3 separate regions of the Homo sapiens genome follow, and all the other regions are linked to region 1. Evidence: promoter capture Hi-C in human tissues and cell types (Jung and others, 2019). All regions are on one chromosome and are shown on one strand. Each heading gives the region's core, a stretch centred on a gene start or on the middle of the fragment in contact. The rest is flanking DNA. Distances are from core to core; before and after follow the strand shown. Region 1 holds the start of AK7 (adenylate kinase 7). Region 2 overlaps AK7 (adenylate kinase 7). Region 3 overlaps ATG2B (autophagy related 2B).

Region 1 (3,495 bases), core at 672-3,171:
CAACCTCCGCCCCCTGGGTTCAAGTGATTTTCCTGCCTCAGCCTCCAGAGCAGCTGAGATTATAGGCGCCTGCCACCACGCCCGGTTAATTTTTGTACTTTTAGTAGAGACAGGGTTTCACTATGTTGGCCAGGCTGGTCTCGAACTCCTGACCTCAGGTGATCCACCCACCTCGGCCTCCCAAAGTGCTAGTATTACACCACGCCCACCCTAAATCTCTGTTTTTTGATGGATGCATTTTAGATGGTACACTGGGTTAAATAGCGTCTACCCCCACCAAATTCCTGTCCTCTTAGAACCTGTGAATGTGGCCTTATTTGGAAATAGGGTCTTTGCAGATGTAATCAAGTTAAAATGAAGCCATATTGGATAGGGTGAGTCCTCATCCAACAACTGGTGTCCTTATGAGAAGAGGGAAGTTTTGACACAGAGACACAGGGGAGAGAACACCATGTGAAGAAGGTGGCAGAGATTGGAGTCTACTGCCAAGGGGTGCCAAGAATTATTGGCAACTACCAGAAGCTAGGAGAGGGGCAAGCAACAGTTCTTCCCCTGGAGCTTCCAGTAGAAACCAACCCTGCTGACACCTTGATCTTGGACTTCTGCCCTCAAGAACTGCGAGAGAATAATTTCTGTTTTATAAGGTCATCCAGTTTGTGGCAATTGGTTACCACAGCCCTAGAAAACTAATACAGATTGTACGTACTGTAGCCTCATCCTATTTTAAGCAGATTTGTCCTGTTCGAAAGTGCAGTCATTAGCCTCAGAGAAGTCTGTCCAGGGTGAGATTAGATTTCTCTGTAGCTCTAGAGGACAGAATTCAGATGGACGGGTCCTACCCACAGGGAATGATAAAATCATGGCTTTCTTTTGACAACTGATCATATTAGCATGAAGGGCCCCAGAGCCCTTTTTCTGAATATCTTCATTTTCCAGGGATAAAGACACAGAAAGGTGAGGAAACTTAATGGAACTCGGGGACCCAAACAGTGTCTGGTCCATAATAGATGCTCAAAAACCATATATTGAAGGGATGGATGAATGAAAAACGCTTCATGGGCAATATAAAAATTTGATTTACTCACGCCTGTAATCCCTTTTGGATTTACTCGGCCTGTAATTTGGGAGGCCGAGACGGGTGGGTCACGAGGTCAGGAGATCGATCGAGACCATCCTGGCTAACACAGTGAAACCCCGTCTCTGCTAAAAATACAAAAAATTAGCCGGGCGCGGTGTCGGGCGCCTGTAGTCCCAGCTACTCGGAGGCTGAGGCAGGAGAATGGCGTGAACCCGGGAGGCGGAGCTTGCAGTGAGCCGAGATCGCGCCACTGCACTCCAGCCTGGGCGACAGAGCAAGGCTCCGTCTCAAAAAAAAAAAATTGATTTATTTTCTCGTTTAGCTGCCTGCTTCAAAATCGATGGAAGGGTAGAAAGAGAACCTAGGAGGGGGCAAGAGACCTGGAGTCTCTGTCCAGGTTCTGGCCTCAACTCTCTATGTGATCTTGGGCAAGTCCCTGCCTCTTAGCCTCAGTTTCCCCTCATTAAAAGGAGGAACAGGGGATGGACCAGTGATTTCCAGACACCTGAGCTTCCATGTAGAATCTCTTGACCAGCCTGGGTGCGGACTGGGGTCCAGGGGGCATTGGTGGTGCCCAGGACGCGGGACCCTCCCTGAGGAAAGGCCCCGACAGCGCCCTGGGGCGCAGACCCTCGCTGGGTTTGCGGACCGGGGGCCGAGGGCTGGGAGCTGAGAGCTGGCGTGAGGCTCTGGGCCGCCGCCGCCGCTCACCTTCCCGATGTTTCCGCTGCTGTAGGAATCCAACAGGTTTATAAACACCCTCTGGGTCCGGATAACCTTCTCCGTGAGAGCAGCAGTTTCCTCTTCTTCAGCCATGGTGGGAGCCGCGCTGGTTGCTAAGGTGAAAGCGCCACTCGCTTGCCAAGGAGGCGGGGCCCGGGCCAGGGAGGCGGGGCAGGTTCTCTCTGGGGGCGGGGCCTTGGCTCCGGGCAGTTTGCCGGGCGGGGAGGGGCGTGTCGTGGGCGAAGCAGGGAGTGCCGGGCGGGGCGGTGCGTGTCGTGCCCGGCGCTAATCAGGGCGTGCCAGGCGGGACGGGGCAGGCTGTGCCGGTCGCTGGGCGGGGCGTGCCGGGTAGGGCGGGGCGAGTCGTGCCGGGGGGTTGGGCGGGGCATGCCGGGCAGGGCGGGGTGTGTAGTGCAGTGGGCTGGGCGGGGCGCGCCGGGCGAAGCGGGGCTCAGGGCTCGCAACTGCGCGCGCTGTCGGCTGCTGGGCGCCAGGCGGATGTCCCTGCGAGTGCTTTCCGCGGCGCCGCGCGTGCAGCCCGGGTCTCACCCTGGCTTGCTGCCCACTGGGAGCCCTTGGGCAGTGCATGGTTTCTTTCCGAAGCTCCCTGGGCGTCTGTCCCGGGGGGCCATGTGATTGCTGTGCCTTTTTAATCTCCATTGTTCGGAAAGTCTGGAAACACATCCCTGTGTCCGCTTGACCCGATGACTAAAAATAATGAGAATTCTGAAGAAGAGGGAATGGCCCACAGCCTAGGCCTCTCCCCGACACGTGGGAGTTACTCAGCACGCTCCCATGGGGTGGTCTGGCCGGGGCGACGGGACGTAAGCCTCAGCTGCGAAGAAAAGCTGTTGCCATGGAGTTTCGGGCTCCCGAACACCCGAGCGACGCTAGCGTGGTCCCGCCTTGCGGCAGGTGCGGCTTGGTCCGCCGGCTCAGCTCCCTTGGGGGTTGTTTCCAGACGCACGTTCCGGGAAGACCCCTGGTGTCGGCTGGGGGCGACCAGAGCCCGTAGGCGCCCGGGATTCGCTCACATTCACCAAGGGAAGAAATTTAGACTTGACCGTTCCACAAGAGATTATACATGCAGTTGCTGAGATAAATCCACAAATTAAAAGATAACATTCACCTCGGTGATCACTGGACCATAAAGGTTGTGGTGGACTAAGAATACGCAGTTCCCTTGGAATAGCCTGATCATATTGAACTGTTTTCATGCCTTAAGCATTAACTCCTTAAATGCAAATATTTAACACTTGCAGCAATTGTGTGTGCGTGGTTTCTTCTCGTTCTTTTTATTATTTTTAATAGAGACAGGGTCTCACTATGTTTGTTGCCCAGGCTAGTCTCTAACTCCGGAGCTCAAGAAACTCTCCTGCCTCGTCCTCCCAAAGTGCTGGTATTACAGGCATGAGCCACCACGCCAGCGTTCTTGTTCTTTTTATTTTTAATTTATTTTTTTGAGATGGAGTCTCGCTCTGTCACCCAGACTGGAGTGCAATGGCATAATCTCAGCTCACTGCAACCTCGCCTCCCGGGTTCAAGCGATTCTCCTGCCTCAGCCTTCGAAGTAGCTGGGACTACAGGCGCCTACCACCGTTCCCGGCTAATTTTTGTATTTTTAGTAGAGACAGGTTTTCAGCATGTTGGTCACGCTGGTCTTGAACTTCTGGCCTCAAGTGATCCACCCGCCT
Region 2 (3,495 bases), core at 450-2,949, 50 kb before region 1:
TAAAAGACTCTTCTGTATCTTTGAAACCCAGTAATGTCATAATGTAAAATCTCTGCAGAAAAAAATGGGTATGTTTCGGCCCCTCCATCCCCAGGGATGGAGCAGATCCAGGGTTTTGTAGTGCCTGAAGCTTAGCCCATTTACAGCAAGCTTGTCAAACCAGGGCCTGTGGGCTGCGTGAGGCCCAGGATGGCTTTGAATGTGGCCCAACACACTTTGTAAACTTTCTTAAAACATTATGAGTTTTTGGGCCGGGCGCAGTGGCTCACGCCTGTAATCCCAGCACTTTGGGAGGCTGAGGCGGGTGGATCATGAGGTCAGGAGATGGAGACCATCCTGGCTAACATGGTGAAACCCCATCTCTACTAAAAAAATACAAAAAATTAGCCAGGCATGGTGGCGGGTGCCTGTAGTCCCAGCTACTTGGGAGGCTGAGGCAGGAGAATGGCATGAACCTGGGAGGTAGAGCTTGCGGTGAACCGAGATTGTGCCACTGCACTCCAGCCTGGGCAACAGAGTGAGACTCCATCTCAAAAAAAAAAATTATGAGTTTTTTTTGTTATTTTTTTTAAAGCTCATCAGCTATCGTTAGTGTTAGTGTATTTTATGTGTGGCCCAAGACAAATCTTCCAATGTGGCCCAGGGAAGCCGAAAGATTGGATATCCCTGACTCATAGGATCCTTCTTTAAGAAAAATAATAAAAATTAGGTTCAGGGTCTTGGAAAGGGATCTGCTCAGGGGTGTGGCCCTGAAGTTTAAACTTCCTTCATTTCCCAGTAAGTCTAGAAATTTATCTGAGATTGTGACTAATTTACTAGTGGCCAGTGGATGAGAGAAAGAGTGGGAATCTGAAAACCAGAACCTCAGGGAAGTGCAGAAATTGCTCCTTTCTGGGGATGTGCCACAGGGGTGACAGAATGAAGTCCCCGGAAGCTGGAGCTGATGAACCACAAACACAGTGAACCAACTCATTGACCTCACGTTTAAGTCAGGGTCTTCAAAGGAAGAGAAGGGTTTCTGGACCTGTCTGAATACAGGGTTTAGATGCTCTGTGAGTATAAAAAACATATGTCAACTTTACCTACAACTGTCAAAGAAGGAAAAAGCTTCAGGTTTACAGTTTTCCATTTGAATTCTAGAATTTAAGTTGACGGGTTAGACATATTAATCTCATCTGGGACAAAGGAATAAGAAACTACGTCCTCAGAATGTACACACCAAGTTCTTTCTTTTCCAAAATTGGAGGGCATTGCTATTCTGTCGATAGTTTCTAAGAGATGAACCTGAACTTGTCACCAGAAATGTAGAACTTTTGAACAGTGGGCACTATTTCATTAGATGCAAAATGGAGAAGACGGTACCTTCTGCATAGGGTTGTTACGAAGAATGAACACAATAATCCATGTAAGGGTCTTAGCACTAGGCAAATGCTCAAAAAGTATTAGGCTACAAACAAACACATTAACCAATTCTGTGAAGGTCACGTCTCTGGGCGAATGCTTACCCTGCTAGATCAAGAACATGGATTGTTGGAATTACATTTGTTCCATCGCCAAAAACTGGTAATGCAGGAATCTCGCCCAACCAAGCCATCTGAAAGGAAGAAAAGCAAAATCATGTCCCCCAGTTATATGTGGATGGCTATTACAGCTCACACATAAGTCTACAGTCAGAGGCAACTGAAAGGCCTAGCTATCTGCTTAAGTAATTTCCTCTAGGGGGTGTTTTATAAATCAGCCCTGATGAGATTTAGGATCAAATTCTGCCAAGAGAAATAGTGTGTAGCCCTGGGACTGAATCAAATTCTGCCAAGAGAAATAATGTGTAGCCCTGGGACTGAATCAAATTCTGCCAAGAGAAATAATGTGTAGCCCTGGGACTGAAATACTTTTCAAGAAATCTACAACCTCTCAGCCGTATTTAGTAGCTATACGCATGGCATTCACATAGAGAAGAAATGTTTTCACATGCATGATGTCTTAATTCTCACAAAAAGACAAATTAAAATTTAAAATTACCCCCACCAGTAGGGATGAGGTGAGGGGAAATAAGTACCATCAGTCCAGGGGTGAAATGCTTAGCGGATAAGTAGCATGCAGGAGGATACACTTGTGAGAGCTTGGACTGGAACCCCGATCCTCAGAGTCCAAATCCTCATCTTTTCTTCTCATTAAGTATTTCAGTAACCAAACAGACATGATGAGTACTGTTTAAGTGTCACATATTAGATTATTTTGAATTGTTGTTAAGAGTGAAAGAGGTAGGGGTAGGGGTCACAGTAGACCACTGGGTCTTGTAAGATATTTTGGACTTTCAGAAAGTATTGAAGGGTTCTAAGCAGTGATGTGACACCAGCAGGCTTGCTTTTGTTGCCTTGTGGAGAAGTGGCGGGAAGGAGAGTCCAGTGGGGACAGAGGGGTGATGGCAGGTGTGCAGGCGAAATAGGGTAGCTTAGCCTGGAGGTGGGAAGTGCAGGGAGTGGGGATGGAGAGAAGGGAGACATTGAGGAGGCTGACTGTAGTAACTGGGAATTTTATGATGGGTAATGTGAAAGGAAAATAAACCTTGGGACCCCAAAATCACTAAGCCAAAGGGAAAAGTCAAGCTAGGAACTACATAAAGCAAACCTGTCTCTCATTCAAAGATTTTATTTTGTTTTCTTTTTTTTTTTTTTTTTTTTGAGACGGAGTCTTGCTGTGTCACCCAGGCTGGATGGAGTGCAGTGGCAGGATCTCAGCTCACTGCAACCTCTGCCTCCCAGGTTTAAGTGATTCTCCTGCCTCAGCTTCCCGAATAGTTGGGATCACAAGCATGTGCCACCACACCTGGCTAATTTTTGTATTTTTAATAGAGATGGGATTTCACCATGTTGGCCAGGCTGGTCTCGAACTCCTGACCTCAGGTGATCTACCCGCCTCAGCCTCCCAATATGCTGGGATTACTGGCGTGAACCACCATGCCTGGCCTCATACCTTCCTCACAATTTGCCCACTATGAAATTATCTGTAGGCCCCAAGAGCTTTACCCGAAAACAGTTCTGTTGAATTTCACCCTGACAATGTAAATTGACAGCTTATCTTCACAGGTACAGGACAAGGACAGAACTCAAAGTCATCCCTAGGCTCACCTGACACAAATGCCTATCTGATTGCTTCCTCGGCCCTATGTCTATTTTATCTTACATAAAAATGCAGATTCGCTGAGCTAGATAAATGCATAAGTGACTATTCCTCTACCCTTCCCTCATGTCGAACAGCTGATCAAAGACTCAAAAGAATGTGCCCGCTTGCCTCTTATCTACCCACACCTTTTATTTATTTTTTGCAGATGCAGGGTTTCACCATGTTGCCCAGGCTGGTCTCAAACTCCTGGGTTCAAGCCATCCACTCACACTGGCCTCCGAAAGTGCTTTACTGGGATTATAGGCATCAGCCACCATGCCTGGCTTACCCACATCTTTAAAAAATTTCTTCCTCTTTCTCTAATATCTACCC
Region 3 (3,495 bases), core at 302-2,801, 40 kb after region 1:
TGAACTCCTGAGCTCAGGCAATCTGCCCACCTTGGCCTCTCAAAGTGCTAGGATTACAGGTGGGAGCCACCATGCCCAGCCCAGTATGTATTTTTAAATTGTTTCTTAGTGGTTGCTCTAGGGCTTACTATATTCATTTTATCAGTACAGTCATGTGTTGCTTAACGACAGGGATATGTTCTGAGAAATGGGTCATTAGGCAGTTTTGTTGTGTGAACGTCATAGTGTACTTGCCTAAACCCAGTGGTATAGCCTACTGTATACCTAGGCTATAGGGTACAGCCTATTGCTCCTAGGCTATACACCTGCACAGCATGTTACTGAATACTGTAGGCAACTGTGACACAATGGTATTTGTGTATCTAAACATAGAAAAGGTATGTACAAATATGGCATAAAATATAAAAAATAAAAATTTTAAAAAGATAAAAATTGATATGGCTGTATGGGGCACTTACCATGAATGGAGCTTGCAGGACTAGAAATTCCTCTGAGTGAGTCAGTGAGTGAATGTGAAGGCCTAGGACATCACTGTCCACTACTGTAGACTTTATAAACACTGTACACTTCGGCTAGAATAAACACTGTACACTTCGGCTAGACTATATTAATAAAGACATCTTTTTTTTTTCAATAATAAGTTAACCTGAGGTTACAGTAACTTTATAAACTTTAAAAAAATTTTTGAACTTTTTGTTTCTTTTGTAATAACATTTAGCTTAAACACACATTGTACAGCTATGCAAAAATACTTTTTCTTTATATTCTTATGCTATAAGCATTTTTTTGTATTTTTAATTTTTTTTTTTAATTTTTAAACTTTTTTGTCAAAAACTAAGACGCAAAAAAACACAGCCTAGGCCTACACAGGGTAAGGATCATCAATGTCACCACCTTCTACCTCCACATCTTGTTCCACTGGAAGGTCTTCAGGAACAGTAACATGCATGGAGCTGTCCTTTCCTATGATAACAATGCCTTCTTCTGGGTACCTCCTGAAAGAACTGCCTGAGCCTGTTTTACAGTTAACTTTTTTTTTTTTAAAGTAGGAGTATACTCTAAAATAATGATTAAATTGTATAGTATAGGTATTAAAACAGAAGCCGGTAGCATAGTTGTTTATTATCACCCTCGAGTATTATGTACTGTGTATAACTGTTTGTGCTAGACTTATGACTGGCAGAGCAAGAGGTTTATTTACACCAGCATCACCACAGACATGTGAGTAATGTGTTGTGCTACATTGCCTTATGATGGCTGCGATGTCACTAAGGTGATAGGAATTTTTCAGCTCCATTATAATCTTACAGGACCACTATCCTATACATGGTCTGTCATTGACCAGATGTCCTTCTGTGATGCATAACTTTATTTCCTTCAGATAATCATGGGGCTTTAAGTGTTACTTTTCTTCTGGATTGTGTTGTAATTACAATTATTGTTAAGTGTATAGTTGATCAAAACAGTATAAATTTATGCATTTTGATAAGCATAAAAATTTTTTTTTCTTTTTTTTTTTTTTGAGACAAGGTCTTGCTGTGTCACCCAGGCTTGGGTGCAGTGGGTGATCACAGCTCAACCGCAGCCTTGACCTCCTGGGATCAAGCGATTATCCCCACCTTAGCCCGCCAAGGAGCTGGGACTACAGGCACGGGCTACCATGCCATCTAATTTTTTTTTTTTTTTTTGAGACGGAGTCTTGCTCTGCCGCCCAGGCTGGAGTGCAGTGGCGCGATTTCGGCTCACGGTAACTTCCGCCTCCCGGGTTCAAGTGATTCTCCTACCTCAGCCTCCCGAGTAGCTGGGATTAAAGGCGTGGGCCACCATGCCTGGCTAATTCTTGTACTTTTAGTAGAGACAGGGTTTCACCATGTTGGCCAGGCTGGTCTCAAACTCCTGACCTCAGGCAATCTGCCTGCCTCAGCCTCCCAAAGTGCTGAGATTACAGGCTTGAGCCACTGCGCCTGGCCAATTTTTGTATTTTTTGTAGAGACGAGTTTCACCATGTCTCCCAGGATGGTCTCAAATTCCTGGACTCAAGCAATCCTTCTGCCTCAGTCTCCAAAATTGCTGGGACTACTGGCATGAGCCACTGTACCCAGCAAACATAAAAACTTTTACTGGAAATAAATTTCTTAATGATAGAGGTTGGTTGTGATCCCCTCCTCCCTAATTTGTTAGTGCATCCATAGGTGAATATACTTATAGCTGGAATTCAGCAGGGCTCGGCACACATTTTATTCTAAATTAAAATGTAGATACAAGCTTGAGAAATACTGATGTTATAAATCAGTAGATGAGAATTGAGAGATTTTGCAGGAGCAACATCACTGAGTTCTTTGAATTTCTGAGTGTCATGCCAAAAAAAGTATAAGATGGGAAAAGATAGAAAATGTACTGCTGGCCCTGTCTGGAGGTTTTTATACCTTAGACAGTACATAAGGGAGAATTTCTGAAGAGAGGAAGAATATGGCTATTTTGGCTAAATGGGAGAAGGAAGATTGTACAAGGAACTATGGGACAGGAGACCCAGCATGATGCCACCACTGTCTGTAGTCTTCTCAGTCCATTTTAGGAAAGAATATGTTTGGATGCTTATACCTTAAAACCATCCATGCCCATGTACTACTGGGAAAGTCTTTAGGATTATGCAAATGTCAGCATGAAGAAAGCCTTTTAAAGTAGTGATCTCCAAAAATAAAACGAGCCGATCAAGTCTCACTATTCAACACTAGGGTACAGACAAAGAATTATACTACCCTATGCAATATAGCATGCAGGAAGCACTTTACATATAAGCTGGCGTTTAATAAATATGTTATTTTAATTTGAAAAGTAAATTGTCTTTTAAAAATCGCATTTACGTTCTTTCTGTCTGTCTCCTGTTGTAGTCTGGTTTGCTCCACCATGCCACTGAAATTGCAGTTAATGGGATCACTAGTACTTTAAATATTACTGATTTCAGTAGACATTTAAAAATCTTTGACTTCTTGTTAGCTTTTGTTGAGCTTGACCACTCTTCTCTGTCATGTTGTTCTTCCATGATTTTCTGGGACATGAACCTCTTTCAATTTTCCTTCTATGTCTCTGTTTGCTTTTTTCTAGTTTCTTCTGCAGGCTCCTCTTTCATAACCCTTTTCTTAAATATTGGTGTCTATGAGTTCTGTCTTAAGCCACCTCTCATTTTACACTGTATAAGTTCCCAAACATTTCTCTCCTCGTGCTGTGGCTTCAGTTACCCATTTGTTTATTATTTTATTATTTTTTTGAGACAGGGTCTTACTAAGTTGCTCAGACTGGAGTATAGGGGCACAGTCTTGGCTCACTATAACCTCTGCCTCCCGGGCTTAAGCATTCCTCCCACCTCGGCTTCTCAAGTAGCTGGGATTACGGGTATGTGCCACTACACCTGGTTAATTTTTGAATTTCTTGTAGAGTCAGGGTTTTGATGTGTTGCCCAGGCTGGTCTCAAACTGCTCAGCTCAAGATCCTCCC

Evidence for each region. The method cuts DNA at HindIII sites, captures the fragments that hold promoters and counts their contacts. A contact is called where the count stands out against the background at its distance.
Region 2: a fragment that was not itself captured here is called in contact with the fragment with the promoter of AK7 in region 1 in 1 of the 25 tissues and cell types used here (H1 embryonic stem cells).
Region 3: a contact is called between a fragment that was not itself captured here and the fragment with the promoter of AK7 in region 1, in 4 of the 25 tissues and cell types used here (H1 embryonic stem cells, adrenal gland, psoas muscle and 1 more).

Annotation. Positions count from the first base shown.
Region 1 is chr14:96,390,554-96,394,048 of GRCh38, reverse strand. It overlaps AK7 (adenylate kinase 7), which reads right to left and starts at 1,921. Exons shown (of 18, transcript NM_152327.5): 1 at 1,790-1,921. The coding sequence starts at 1,894. RefSeq lists a silencer at 1,852-2,361. The HindIII fragment of the contact is 16,997 bases long and covers 1-3,495 here.
Region 2 is chr14:96,440,829-96,444,323 of GRCh38, reverse strand. AK7 (adenylate kinase 7) reads right to left here. Exons shown (of 18, transcript NM_152327.5): 7 at 1,506-1,594. Among named protein-coding and RNA genes, the nearest start is that of AK7, 50 kb to the right of the region's middle. The HindIII fragment of the contact is 3,117 bases long and covers 141-3,257 here.
Region 3 is chr14:96,349,929-96,353,423 of GRCh38, reverse strand. All of the region lies in intron 1 of ATG2B (autophagy related 2B), which reads left to right. Among named protein-coding and RNA genes, the nearest start is that of ATG2B, 12 kb to the left of the region's middle. The HindIII fragment of the contact is 9,607 bases long and covers 1-3,495 here.